5 separate regions of the Homo sapiens genome follow, and all the other regions are linked to region 1. The links are contacts of gene promoters, found by promoter capture Hi-C in blood cells and fetal thymus (Javierre and others, 2016). All regions are on one chromosome and are shown on one strand. Each heading gives the region's core, a stretch centred on a gene start or on the middle of the fragment in contact. The rest is flanking DNA. Distances are from core to core; before and after follow the strand shown. Region 1 holds the start of CTDSP2 (CTD small phosphatase 2). Region 2 overlaps ERBB3 (erb-b2 receptor tyrosine kinase 3). Region 3 overlaps ATP5F1B (ATP synthase F1 subunit beta). Region 4 overlaps RAB5B (RAB5B, member RAS oncogene family). Region 5 holds the start of LOC124902941 (a long non-coding RNA gene).

Region 1 (2,700 bases), core at 1-2,500:
ACGCTCTGGAAGGCGGGGGCCGCCAGCCGCTGCCCACAGAGAACTCGCACTTTTTCGCTGCGCGATTCAGAACCACGCCGGGTCTGATGCCATCCGGCGAATTATGTAACCAGGGACACCGCTCCCGGGCTAAACAAACGCGGCTCTGTGTGTGCAGCGCCGGCCCCGGGGGAGCGCACCGGGCAGGGAGGGGCTCTGGCCGGGCCTCAGGGTCGGGCTTGTTTGCTCAGCGAAACTGGTCAGAGGCAGCCGGGAGGGAGCCCGACGCCGCCAAGGTCCCGGGGCCTGCGCTGAGCCGGGAACCCGCCACGTCTGGTGCGCCAGGGCCCGGGCCCCTCCCCCACCGCGACCGCCCCCGCCTCCAAGAGGTGAACTTGGTCCCAAGTCCCGCCGGACGCCGTCACCGCCAGCTAGCTGCCCGAACGACCTCGGGCTTGGGGGGGCCTGCAAGTGCTGGACTCCAGTCTCGGTTCCGTTCCACCTGGGGCTCCCTCTGTCACCTTCCTAACCCCTCCCCGCGATCCCGGGGCAGCCGCGCGCGGCGGTGAAGGAAAGTGACGACCCCACCCCCAACTCCGGAGGCGGTGGACGCGGAGTGGCCCAGTGCTTCGAGAGCTACCCCTCCGTCTCTCAGCCCCGAGGGGGAGGGGTTGCGGGACAGGGTGACAGCTGCGCCGAAGACGCCCTTTCCGCTCGGGCGCCGGGATCCCCGTGCAACCCCCACGGAGGTCTGAGTGCCAGCCGGGATGCGGGGGCGGATGGACCGGAGGGGTCCAGTCGGGATCGCTGGCTCTAAGCCCTGGAGGTCAAGGGCCGAGACCTGGGTTCGGGGCTGTGCTAGCCCCCTCCGCGCCCGGGGGCGACGCAAAGTTTTGGGAAGTTGCTGCCCCTACCTTGCTTGGTGAGCACCAGGGCGTCTTCCCTCCGCGCCTGGGTGATGATGGAGCCGTGTTCCATCTAACAATCCCGCGGGCCCGGGCTGGCTGGGCGGGAGGACGGGCGGGCGCGCGGGCTGGGCTGGGCTGGGGGGCCTGGGCGGGGGCCCGCTCCGGCTCCCGAGACTCCGACTTCCACAGCTGTTCACATCCCCCCTCTCGTTTCCTCCCCGGACCGGGAAGGGAGGCGGCCTGTACAAAGGGCGGGCGGCCCGGGCAGCGGCTCCCCCGGGTGCCCCCGGCCCCGATCCCCCAGCGGCAGCTCCGGGCTCCTCAGTTTGGGTCCAACATGGAGAATCCGGAGCGAAAACAAGAGGAGGAAATGGGACACGGGGCGGTTTCCAGGCTCCCCCCTCCCCTCCGTACTCCAGATAAACAACCCGCGGCTGCAGCGCCCACCCCCGCGCGCCTCCCGGCTCTCGACTCGGCCTCTTCACGGCCAGCTGGAGCTTCCCGCTGGGGGCTGCGTCCTAGGCCCTGGGACCCTCCATCTGTGAGCGGCCGGGGCTGCGGACAGTCGGGAGCTTTGCTATTTTGTTACGGAAAAAGCGAATCCTCAAGGGGGGTGGGGTGGCGGGCGGGCAGGCTGGCGGGGGAGACTTGAAACCGTTCCGGTGCTCCGATTGGCTCTCTTGGAGAAAAGGGGCGTGGCCCCTCCTTACTATGCGGTGAGAGGACCTAACAACATTCCAGGCGCCACGGCCACGCCCCCGGGCCACTCCCCCCGCGCCAGACTGCGGCCTCCCAGTCTCCTCGGCCACACCCCCTTCCCAACTATTTAAAAGGCCGCTCCGAAGCTCACGTTCTGGTGCTCTGTGCTGGGGTGTTCTTTTCTCGGAGGGCGCACTCGGGGAAGGTGGAAAGGTTTCCCCCTTCAGGGGTGACCAAGACAAGCCGCTAAGCCTAACCTGACTCCAGCAGGGGATGGGGCGGATCGGAAGTTACCTTACCCCCCTGCTTAGCCCTAGAATCAAGGACGTACCAAGTCACATAAAAGTACAACCGTCGAGGCCAGGCGCGGTGGCTCACGCCTGTAATCCCAGCACTTTGGAAGGCCGAGGTGGGTGGATCACGAGGTCAGGAGTTCAAGACCAGCCTGGCCAAGATGGTGAAACCCCGTCTCTACTAAAAATACAAAAAAATTAGCCGGGCGTGGTGGCGGGCGCCTGTAATCCCAGCTACTCGGGAGGCTGAGGCAAAGACTTGCTTGAACCCGGGAGGCGGAGATTGCAGGTAGCCGAGATCGCGCCACTGCACTCCAGCCTGGGCGACAGAGCGAGACTCTGTCTCAAAAAAAAAAAAAAAAAAGTACAACCTTCGAATCCCGAAAGGGGTGTGTGCGTGTGGGCGGACCTAGGACTCCAGAGTATAAGAGCTGGAACTGACCTCGGGACTGTGTCCCCCAAAACACTGAAAATGAGACCTGAGGTGCTGGGCTTTCCTCACACCCACCGACTTACTCCCATTTAGGCGGCCCCGACTCCGCCCCTCCTCCCTACCTCCCTCATCCTACCCCTCTCTTTTTGCCCCCACAGTCCCAGCTTCCTTTAGATGGATGGAGGTCTCTCGGAGGAGCTTCAGCTTTGTGGACTCAGGCTGCCTTCCCCACTTGCTCTTTAGGCCTCGGGGCACGCTCCGCTGGCTACAGCTCCTGGAGTCTCTGCTCAAGGTTGTGGGTGCTTTTGTTCCCCAGCGGTGGTAGCTCCAGAAAGGCTGGTTTCAGCTCAATATCAGGTCTTTTCCAGTGATCTACATCTGTCCACAG
Region 2 (2,700 bases), core at 140-2,639, 1.8 Mb before region 1:
CTCCTTATCTTTCAGCTTTAAAGACAAAGCTCCCATTGACCCCCCCTCACCCCAGCACTGCCAGAGCTCCCCCCTCTACTGAGGTCACTTGTCTGAGCCCAAGGCTTGAGGGTGGAGGGGAGTGCTGCTGAGGACGGGGTGTCTAGGGACAGGGTGGGGCAGCCCCCCTCCTGGATAGAATCGCCTCATTGTGGGCTGGACTGTGGCCCCAGGCACTGCCCCCACCCTCTGCCCCCATCCCACCCTCAGTAGACACAATAGGGGCTGTGTACTAGTCCCAAAGAGATATTTATTCCAGGACCTAGAGAGAGGCAGGATGAGGGTAGAGAAGTGAGTGCCCTAGTTGGAGGGGGAGAGGAGGGTAATCAAAGTTGCGGCCTTTTCCTAACTTCTCTTTTCTAGGGAGAGAAACAAATTCCCTGTCTTCCTTCTCAGTTAACCCCTTAGTACCCAAAAGAAGCACAGAGGGGTCCCAGGTTGAAAAAGGAAATCTTTTCACCTTCCCATTCATGGAATGGTAAGGGGATTCTGAGAAGAGAGAAAGCTCTCAGGCCACTACAGCTTCTGCCTATCGCTTGTGGGAGGGTTGGAGGCAAATGCCATCTGATCCTGTCTAATGTAACTGGAAGAGGGCAACCAAGGGGGTGATCTTTGGGGATGGCAGATGGGCTGAGAATTTGTGTCCAGCCCTCAGCCACTCTTCCCTCTGCTTTGAACAGTGTGTCCTGGGACTCTGAATGGCCTGAGTGTGACCGGCGATGCTGAGAACCAATACCAGACACTGTACAAGCTCTACGAGAGGTGTGAGGTGGTGATGGGGAACCTTGAGATTGTGCTCACGGGACACAATGCCGACCTCTCCTTCCTGCAGGTTAGTGAGCCCACCCTCCTTCCTCAACCTGCTCCTCTTTATTCTCCCCTAGAACCCTCCTTCCTTCTTCAGGGCTACCTTCTGCTGGAGTTCACCCTTCCTAAGACTCAGGAGTTCCTAAGATTCAAAACCGTGTATTTATGGGGACAGTGGCTGTCATCTGGGACCTATGGTCTCACTGTTGTAGCCAGGGATATATAGGGGGCAGGGTCAGGGGCAGGTGGTGTTCTGTGGATAGTGCAAGGTCAGCAGGGACTAGTGCAGAGAGAAACCTGAGGACCAAGAGGTTACCTGGGGAGATGAGGAAGGGGCCCTACTGGTATGAGGCACTTTGAGGAGAAAGCTGCCTGTCTTCACTCCCAGAAGTGACACAGCAGTGTGACACAGTCTACTCCCTACTCCCAAATAGGAATTAGCAAGAGTTAAGGCCAGGTGCAGTGGCTCATGCCTGTAATCCCAGCACTTTGGGAGGCCAAGGAAGGCAGATCACTTGAGGTCAGGAGTTCAAGACCAGCCTGGGCAATGTGGTGAAACGCTGTCTCTACAAAAATACAAAAATTAGCTGGGTATGGTGGCATGCACCTGTAGTCCCAGCTACTTGGAGGGCTGAGGTGGGAGGATTGCTTGAGCCCAGGAGTTTGACGCTGCAGTGAGCGAGATTGTGCCACTCGTAACAGAGCGAGACCCTGTCTCACCAAAAAAAAAAAAAAAGGCCAAGCTCGGATCACCTGAGGTCAGGAGTTCGAGACCAGCCTGACCAACATGGAAAAACCACATCTCTACTAAAAATACAAAATTAGCCAGGTGTAGTGGCACATGCCTGTAATCCCAGCTACTTGGGAGGCTGCGGCAGGAGAATTGCTTGAACCCGGGAGGTGGAGGTTGTGGTGAGCCAAGATCGCACTATTGTACTCCAGCCTGGGCAACAAGAGCGTAACTCCGTCTCAAATTTTAAAAAAAAGAAAAAAAGAAAGGAAAGAAAGAAGGAAGAATTAAAACAGTTAAAGAGTCTTTAATGCCTGAAGGAGGAGAGGAGATTGAGATTATTTTGCCCTGTTGTCTCTCTCATTTACATAATCTGCTCTGTCACAGTGGATTCGAGAAGTGACAGGCTATGTCCTCGTGGCCATGAATGAATTCTCTACTCTACCATTGCCCAACCTCCGCGTGGTGCGAGGGACCCAGGTCTACGATGGGAAGTTTGCCATCTTCGTCATGTTGAACTATAACACCAACTCCAGCCACGCTCTGCGCCAGCTCCGCTTGACTCAGCTCACCGGTCAGTTCCCGATGGTTCCTTCTGGCCTCACCCCTCAGCCAGCCCAAGACTGGTACCTCCTTGATGATGACCCAAGACTGCTCACTCTAAGTGCCTCTTCCAAGGTGCCTGTCACCTTGGCCGCTGTCTAAAGGTCCATTGCTCCCTAAGCAATAGAGGGCCCCCAGTAGGGGGAGCTAGGGGCATCTGCTCCAGGGAAAGGAACCCTGTGTCCTTGTGGGGCTGGAGTCAGAGCTGGATCTGTTAACCGTTTTTCTAATTTCAAAGTACAGTGTACCGGAGGCCAGGCCTGATGGCTTACACCTGTAATCCCAGCATTTTGGGAGGCCAAGGAGGGCAGATCACTTGAGATCAGGAGTTTGAGACCAGCCTGGCCAACATGGCGAAACCCTGTCTCTACTAAAAATACAAAAAAATAAAATAAAATAAAAAATTAGCTGGCTATAGTGGTGCGCACCTGTAATCCCAGCTGTTCATGAGGCTGAGGCAGGAGACTCGCTTGAACCTGGGAGGTGGAGGTTGCAGTGAGCTGAGATTGCACCACTGCACT
Region 3 (2,700 bases), core at 181-2,680, 1.2 Mb before region 1:
GCTGGTCCCCATACTCACCCATGTCAGGCTGGCACAGCTCCAGGCTGGGACCACCCAGCTCCTCACTGTCCTTGGGCCTCCACTTCACGTAAAGGTTGGTGTTGGATCCTCCCAAACTGTGAGCTGGGAACTAGCAAGAATCAAAAAGCCAGTGTATGCTTCCTGCGAACCACACAGCCTGAACTGCTGTAGGGTGATGTCCCTGTGTGACAGACTGGGGTGGGGAGGGAGGAGGGAAGGGCGGGGCTTTCTCTGGGTGGAGAGAGGGAGGAGGCGAGGACAGGGCAGACCAGGAGAAATATGGAGGAAGGTTAGAGAGCTGTGTTGACACTCCAGTGGCATGGTAGAAGAGGCCGGCAAAGGGGGAAGGAAACAAATAGTTGCAGCTACTGAGAGGGAGAAGGTTCTCGATAAACGCTGAAGGACGTGAACATGTTGGGGGAAGGGGTGGAGGGATGCAAAAGACCTTTAGGATTTCAGTTCCCAGGTCTGTATCGGGTGACGTGAGAAAACAAAGCAGAAAGGGCTGACCTGTACCCTAGGGCTTTTTCTACCAGCTTCTTACCCACTCCAGAGTCAGGACCTAGAGGAAGTGTCCACACCCCCATAACTCAGCATTTCCCCAAATCCCAGCTTTTCTGGGAGCAAACTACCAGCACAAGCAGCTCAGGGGCTCCACCTTCTGTCCAGATCATGACACAGGAGAGACTGCGGGAGAGGCTGCTGCCAAGGACGTCACAGGCAGATGGAAGGAAGCTTAGAGGCCCCTACTCCACCCCTGGCCCCGCGCCAAAAAGCCCTCCCCAACCTTCAGCCCCCAGGGGCCTCTGAATTGGAGCTCAGCTTGTCCCCGCCCAGCTTCTACCTAACTTGATGGACTCAGCGGGTGGAGCTTATAGATACAGGCTCCTCCCCAGGACAAAAGCCCCAGCTGGTCTGTAAACAGTCTTTAACTGAGAGCCACATCCCAGCAAATGGCCTTCATGGATTTGAAAATGGGATCAGAGTTCTTGCAGAGTCTCCAGTGCTACCGCGAGAGGGCAGTCGGATGGGTCTGGTCCCGGAAAAGAACACAAGAGGAACCCAATCTGACCTTGCACGCTTCTTTTAAATTGAAATGGTAAAATATATCTTCTACCCCTGCACCTCTCAGTCGGCTAAAATGAAGGGAAAATAACCTAACTTCATTAGTTTAGAAGCCCAAGCCAGCAACTCTGAAAATTGCTATTCCCTTGTAAGATTATCTTTTCTGGACTTTCATAAGGGGATCTTCACAGAGGGTGGACTAGGCCTTATGGTATTATATGCCTCTGCATAGCCTCAAGGAATCACAAGCAACTTTTATTTAGGCTTGCCCAAAATGTCAGGAAGTAGTTAAGTACACTTTCTGAAGACATGAAGGCCTAACCAAGATGTAGAGAACCCTTTTGATTCCATTTTAACAAAGATCAGTATTCTTCATCACTATTTCTTGAAAATTTAATTCATTAAACTCAGATTAACCCCTGGAAATAAGTTATTTCTAAAACGAGTTTTTCCCAATATGCCCTTCAAAAAAGTCCTATTTTTAACCAAGAAGTAGGGATGTGCCACATGGAATAGAGGCCAAAAAAAAAAAAAAATCAATTTGTATTGAACAAAAGGCCCAAAACTGAGGCCCTACTAAGATCACACTACCCACAGGAAACCCCTCACAAGAGGTACGGTTGTCCATCAACAAAAGAGAATGGCTATTTTTAAGGACCAATTTCAAACATACATGGCCCACTTCATGCTGAAACTGCTTCTTATAGCCACTCTAAAAATCTAATTGTTGAAAACAGTGCTGGTGATGTGAGACTACATACACCTGTAGCCCCAGCTACTCAGGAGACTGAGGTGGGAGATCTCGAGCCCAGGAGTTAGAGACCAGTCTTGGCAACACAGCCAGACACCGTGTCTCTAAAACTAAAATTAAATACATAACCCTTCAGTGTTGACTATGTTGTCAGAACCAAGAGAATCAGACAAATTCTGAGGGGTGTACATTTTATTGGAAACCTTAAATACTGTTCAGAAAGAATATATCTTCAATCAAGGCTCTTGTGCAGCCTACACAGAAAAATGAAGCTTTTTGGGTTAGGGGCAAGGAGAGAGACAGTACAGAGGACAAAGACCCCTCACGATGAATGCTCTTCAGCCAGCTTATCAGCTTTTGCCACAGCTTCTTCAATGGGTCCCACCATATAGAAGGCCTGTTCTGGGAGATGGTCATATTCACCTGTATGATGGGGGAGAAAAAAAAAAAGAGTAAGAAGCGGAGGGATATCAACTTTCTGCATCATGTAACATTCCTCACCACTTCAGGCCATCAGTTAGAATGTGATGAATTCATGTCATCTTAGAAAGCTTAAATTTCCCTCACAAATCAAATTTACAAGATATGATACAGTATGAATTAAGAACACATGGGCCAGGCACGGTGGCTTACACCTGTAATCCCAGCACTTTGGGAGGCCAAGGCAGGCGGATCACCTAAGGTCAGGAGTTCGAGACAAGCCCAGCCAACATGGTGAAACCCCATGGCTACTAAAAATACAAAAATTAGCCAGGCGTGGTGGCGTGTGCCTGTAATCCCAGCTACTTGGATGGTTGAGGCTGGAGAATCACTTGAACCCGGCAGGTGGAGGTTGCAGTGAGCCAAGATTGCACCAGTGTACT
Region 4 (2,700 bases), core at 107-2,606, 1.9 Mb before region 1:
GGATCACATGCTTTGAAATACATAAAAATGTAAGGGAGTAAGTTGAAAAAACCAGTAACTTTTTCTATTGTTTCTTGAGAGTATAGCATATATATGTCACCTGAAGGAAACTTGATCAGCTTATCATCTGTCCTTTTTTTTTTATTATGGTGTCACCTGTCTTCTCTTTTATTTATTTTTTATTTTGAGAGACGGAGTCTTGCTCTGTTGCCCAGGCTGGAGTACAGTGGCATAATCTCAGCTCACTGCAACCTCCGCCCTCTGGGTTCAAGCGATTCTCCTGCCTCAGCTTCCCAAGTAGCTGGGACTACAGGCATGTGGCGCTACACCCAGCTAATTTTTGTATTTTTTAGTAGAGACGGGGTTTCACTATATGTTGGCCAGGCTGGTCTCAAACTCCTGACCTCTCAAACACCAGAGTGAGACTCTCTCTAAAAATGGAAAATAAATTTTAAAATGTTATAATTAAAGATACTCATTTAAATTGAATAAATTTAGCTTTATGAAAAATTTGCTGTATCATCTTTATTTTGATCCTTTCGTCATAGGCCATTGAAAACTTAATCATAAAATGGTACATGTATATCTGAATTTTTAAGACTGACTGACCAAGGGGACTACAGAATACCCAGTAGAATCAAAGTAATTGTCATGTTCCTCTGTATTAATCTAGTCTACTTTGGGACCTTGAGTTCTCACCTCTCATTCTTTTGCTAACTTCCTCTTTACCCTTTAGTTATGTCTCCTTTTTTTTTTTTTTTTTTTTCCAGAGATAGCGTCTTGTTCTGTCGCCCAGGCTGGAGTGCAGTGGTGTAATCAGCTCACTACAACCTTCAACTCCTGGGCTCCAGTGATTCTCCCACCACAGCCTCTGGAGTAGCTGGGATTACAGGCACATACCACCATGCCCAGCTAATTTTTTTAAATGTTTTCTAGAGACTCAGTCTCGCTATGTTGCCTAGGCTGGTCTCAAACTCCTCACCTCAAGCAAGGCTTCCCCTTTTATCTCCCAAACCCCTGGGATTACAGGCATGGGCCGCTCTGCCAGGCCTGTTTTTTCTCTTTTTCTTTCTCTGTACCACTTTCATATTGTGGCTTCTTCCCTGCCCCCGATCTCCCCCCTACCCACCCCAGGTGGAGTCTTGCTCTGTTACCCAGGCTGGAGTGTGGTGGCACGATCTCGGCTCACTGCAACCTCCGCCTCCCGGGTTTAAGCAGTTCTGCCTCAGCCTCCCGAGTAGGATTACAAATGCCGGCCACCAACCACACCCGGCTAATTTTTTTTTTTTTTTTTTAGACTGAGTCTCGCTGTTGCTCTGTCGCCAGGCTGGAGTACAGTGGTGCAATCTCAGCTCACTGCAACCTCCACCTCACAAGTTCAAGCAGTTCACCTGCCTCAACCTCCCAAGTAGCTGGGACTACAGGCACGCGCCACCACGCCCAGCTAATTTTTGTATTTTTAGTAGAGACGGGGTTTCACCATGTTTGCCAGGCTTGTCTCAAACTCCTGACCTCCTGATCTGCCTGCCTTTGCCTCCCAAAGTGCTGGGATTACAGGCGTGAGCCACTGTGCCCGCCTTTTATTTTTTGAGACGGAGTCTCGCTCTGTCACCCAGGCTGGAGCACAGTGGCGCATCAGCTCAGTGCACCCTCTACCTTCTGGGTTTAAGCGATTCTCCTGCCTCAGCCTCTGGAGTAGCTGGGATTACAGGTATGCACCACCACACCCAGCTAATTTTTTTTGTATTTTTAGTGGAGACGGGGTTTCACCATGTTGGCCAGGCAGGGCTCGAACTTCTGACCTCAGGTGATCCACCTCAGCCTCCCAAAGTGCTGGGATTATAGGTATGAGCTACTGCACCCAGGCTGTGGCTGCTTTTTAGGAATATATTGATAACAACTAATATTGAGATATATTTTAATAGCTATTAGCACTATGCTAAACACATCTTTCACTTATTATTTGTAGCTATGAGGATGGTATTTTTTCCATTTTACAAAGGTAGAAGGTAAGGCTTAGAGAGGTAGAGAAATTCTCTTTATATCATATTAGTAATGATTAGTAGCTTAATATTTATTTAGCACTTAGTATCTATCAAATACTTAAAATACTTTAGTTATTTATATGCATTATCTCATTTAATCCTTACAACACCCTTATGAAGTAGGTGCTTATAAGGCTATTATCTCATTTTACAGATGAGGAAATGAATGCACACATATATTTAGTGACTTGCTCAAGGTTCATAGCTAGTAAGTAGAGCTGAAAAACAAACGTGGAGAATTGGACTCCAGAGCCTTTATTCCTCTGAATTGCCTCCTGTATGATTTTCTGTCTTTACGATCTAGTAAGTGGGGTTACTGAAAATTTTTAACCCCAGTTTAACTCCAGTCCCACTAATTGTGGTGACAAAATAATGATGTTTCCCCACATATGCCATAGAGTATGATGTCTGTGAAGTCACTAGGATCTGCTTTGGAAAAGCGAAAGAGTAATTTGAACAAGCAAAGTACAACTCTCAAGCAATGCTTAGGTTTGGGAGAGAGGTTTTTGCATGCTCTGCCTATGCTAACTTCCCTTTGAATTTCATAGTTCCTTTCCGCTCAGAGTCAGGATGATGAAATGTATTCAGATTTAGACGATTAGAATCTCAAAGTCCCAACTCTTCTCTCTGTTCCCTGCCCCACCAGCAGCTTTCT
Region 5 (2,700 bases), core at 22-2,521, 1.9 Mb before region 1:
AAATAAAACTCCCATAAATAAAAAAAAATACTCCCATAGAAATAAAAACACCTAGTGATCAGATCTTAGTTTTTAACATTACTCTTTAGTAAAAAGAACAAGGGCTTCTTGGAGAAATGGCAGACCGCAGGACTGGAGCAGAGAACAAAATCATACCTGCAATGATGGCAAATGTCAAAGGGAGATGGGCCAAGTAAAAAACTAAAAGAGTTCCCAATGTTCAAAACTGGAACATTTGAGCAATAAAGCAAATAAAATAGTATTGGATTATAACCTAACATATAAAATACACATCTATAAGTCCATATTGATATACATAAATTAATAAAGGAAAAGAAAAAAATCTCCTGGGCAGAAAAATGCCAAATAGTGTGTTTTTTTAATTGTTTTTTGAGACAGCCTCTCACTGAGGATGGAGTACAGTGGCACAATCACGGCTCAATGCAGCCTCAGCCTCCCTGGCTCAATCTTCCCCTCTGAGGCTCCCTGAGTAGCTGGGACCACAGGTGTGTGCCACCTTACCCAGCTCGTTTTTTTTTTAAATCTTTTTGTAGATAAGAGGTCTTGCTATGTTGCTTAGGATGGCCTCAAGCAATCCTCCAGCCTCAGCCTCCCAAAGTGCTGGGATTACAGGCATATGCCACCATGCCCAGCCCTTAATCTCTTTTTTTAAGGAGAGCACAACTCTCTACTCCTTATGCGTGGGCTGGCAATAGTGACTTCCCTACAGTATGGAAAGGAAGGGGGTAAAGCCTAACTTTACAGTGAAGCCTTACAAACAATATCTCTGCCAGATGATCACGGTCAATACTAACAGGCTGGGCATAGTGACTCATGCCTAGTAATCCCAGAATTTTGGTAGGCCAAAGGGGAACAATACCTTGAGCTCAGGAGTTCAAGACCAGCCCAGGCAACATAGTGAGACCATCTTTACCAAAAAAAAAAAAAAAAAAAAAATTAGCTGGTCATGATAGCACACGCCTGTGGTCCTAGATACTCAGGAGGCTGAGGTGGGAGGATCAATTGAGACTGGGAGGTCAAGATTTCAGTGAGCCATGATGGCATCACCGCACTCCAGTCTGGGCAACAGAGGGAAGACCCTGTCTCAAAAAAACAAAAATATTAACAGTAAAAAATCATTGTGATACTATGTACCCTGATACAATGTGATGAAAATGTCACTTTACCTCTGTGGTCTTCCTCCCCAAAACACATAACCCAAATCTAATCATGAGAAATACATCAGACAAATTCCAATAGAAGGATATCCTACAAAATACCTGACCAGTACTCCTCAAAACTCAAGGTCATGGAAAACAAGGAAAGCCTGAGAAAATGTCACAGCCAAGAGGAGCTTAAAGAGACATGAGAACTAAATGTTATGTAGTACCCTGGATAAGATCCTGGAACAACAAAAAAAAATTAGGTAAAAAGGCTGGGCGCAGTGGCTCACACCTGTAATCCCAGCACTTTGGGAGGCCGAGGTGGGCAGATCACCCGAGGTCAGGAGTTTGAGACCAACCTGACCAACATGGAGAAACCCATCTCTACTAAAAATACAAAATTAGCCGGGCATGGTGGCACATGCCTGTAATCCCAGCTACCCAGGAGGCTGAGGCAGGAGAATCACTTGAACCCGGGAGGCAGAGGTTGCGGTGAGCTGAGATCTCACCATTGCACTCCAGCCTGGGCAACAAGAGCAGAACTCCGTCTCAAAAAAATAGTAATAAATAAATAAATATAAAAATAAATTAAGTAAAAACTAAGGAAATCAGCCAGGCATGGTGGTTCACACCTGTAATTCTAGCACTTTGGGAGGCCAGGGCGTGAGGATTGCTTGAGCCCAGGAATTTGAGATCAGACTGGGCAACAGAGCAAGACCGCATTTCTACAAAAAATACAAAAATTAGCCAGGCGTGGTGGTGTGTACCTGTAGTCCCAGCTACTCAGTAGGTTGAGATGTGAGGATCACTTGAGCCCAGAAGTTAAGACTACAGTAAATGGTGATTGCACCACTGCACTCCAGCCTGGGTGACAGAGCAAGACCCTGTCTGAAAAAAAAAAAAAACAAAACTAATGAAATGATGTATGGATTCTAGTTAATAGTAATATATCAATATTGCTTCATTAATTGCAAGCAAAGTACTATATTAACGTAAGATGACAGTAATGGGGAAACTGAGTGTAGGGTATATGGGAAATCTCTGTAGCATCTTCTCAATTTTTCTATAAATCTAAAAGTGTTCTAAAAAATCAAGTATATTTAGAATATTAAAAAAAGAAATGGCTAGGCGTGGTGACTCATGCCTGTAATCCCAGCACTTTGGGAGGCCAAGGCTGGCAGATCACGAGGTCAGGAGTTCGAGGCCAACCTGACCAATATGATGAAACCCTGTCTCTACTAACAATACAAAAATTAGCCAAGCGTGGTGACATGTGCCTGTAATCCCAGCTACTCAGGAGGCTGAGGCAGAAGAATCACTTGAACCAGGGAGGCGGAGGTTGCAGTGAGCCGAGATCGCGCTACTGCACTCCAGCCTGGGCGACAGAGTGAGACTCTGTCTCAAAGAAAAAAAAAAAAAGAAACGATACAAAAGTTTACCTTGGGTTGGCTAGAATAATGGTGCCTTTAACAGAAATAGTGATGGAAAAACTGATACTGGTTTTGGTCAGGTTGGATTTGAGGTATAACAGTATATC

What was found. Contacts are between HindIII fragments. The CHiCAGO score rates a contact against its expected background, and 5 or more counts as called.
Region 2: a fragment that was not itself captured here is called in contact with the fragment with the promoter of CTDSP2 in region 1 in 1 of 17 cell types (monocytes); the score reaches 5.2 in monocytes.
Region 3: a contact is called between a fragment that was not itself captured here and the fragment with the promoter of CTDSP2 in region 1, in 1 of 17 cell types (fetal thymus). The highest score is 6.5, in fetal thymus.
Region 4: a fragment that was not itself captured here is called in contact with the fragment with the promoter of CTDSP2 in region 1 in 1 of 17 cell types (M0 macrophages); the score reaches 6.3 in M0 macrophages.
Region 5: a fragment that was not itself captured here is called in contact with the fragment with the promoter of CTDSP2 in region 1 in 1 of 17 cell types (non-activated CD4 T cells); the score reaches 5.4 in non-activated CD4 T cells.

What each region holds. Positions count from the first base shown.
Region 1 is chr12:57,845,479-57,848,178 of GRCh38, forward strand. It overlaps CTDSP2 (CTD small phosphatase 2), which reads right to left and starts at 1,251. Exons shown (of 8, transcript NM_005730.4): 1 at 894-1,251. The coding sequence starts at 957. RefSeq lists silencers at 73-372, 963-1,392, 1,403-1,482, 1,553-1,732. The HindIII fragment of the contact is 5,566 bases long and covers 1-2,700 here.
Region 2 is chr12:56,083,032-56,085,731 of GRCh38, forward strand. ERBB3 (erb-b2 receptor tyrosine kinase 3) reads left to right here. Exons shown (of 28, transcript NM_001982.4): 2 at 720-871; 3 at 1,964-2,150. Among named protein-coding and RNA genes, the nearest start is that of ERBB3, 4.2 kb to the left of the region's middle. The HindIII fragment of the contact is 4,298 bases long and covers 1-2,700 here.
Region 3 is chr12:56,636,164-56,638,863 of GRCh38, forward strand. It overlaps ATP5F1B (ATP synthase F1 subunit beta), which reads right to left. Exons shown (of 10, transcript NM_001686.4): 10 at 2,012-2,260. The coding sequence ends at 2,160. It also overlaps a transcript of BAZ2A not described here. Among named protein-coding and RNA genes, the nearest start is that of SNORD59B, 6.2 kb to the right of the region's middle. RefSeq lists enhancers at 575-744, 718-1,229, 722-1,016. The HindIII fragment of the contact is 1,353 bases long and covers 755-2,107 here.
Region 4 is chr12:55,982,909-55,985,608 of GRCh38, forward strand. The region is part of intron 1 of RAB5B (RAB5B, member RAS oncogene family); the gene reads left to right. Among named protein-coding and RNA genes, the nearest start is that of RAB5B, 10 kb to the left of the region's middle. The HindIII fragment of the contact is 3,145 bases long and covers 1-2,700 here.
Region 5 is chr12:55,921,511-55,924,210 of GRCh38, forward strand. All of the region lies in intron 1 of PYM1 (PYM1 exon junction complex associated factor), which reads right to left. LOC124902941 (a long non-coding RNA gene) reads right to left here and starts at 2,261. Exons shown (of 2, transcript XR_007063325.1): 1 at 1,931-2,261. The HindIII fragment of the contact is 7,726 bases long and covers 1-2,700 here.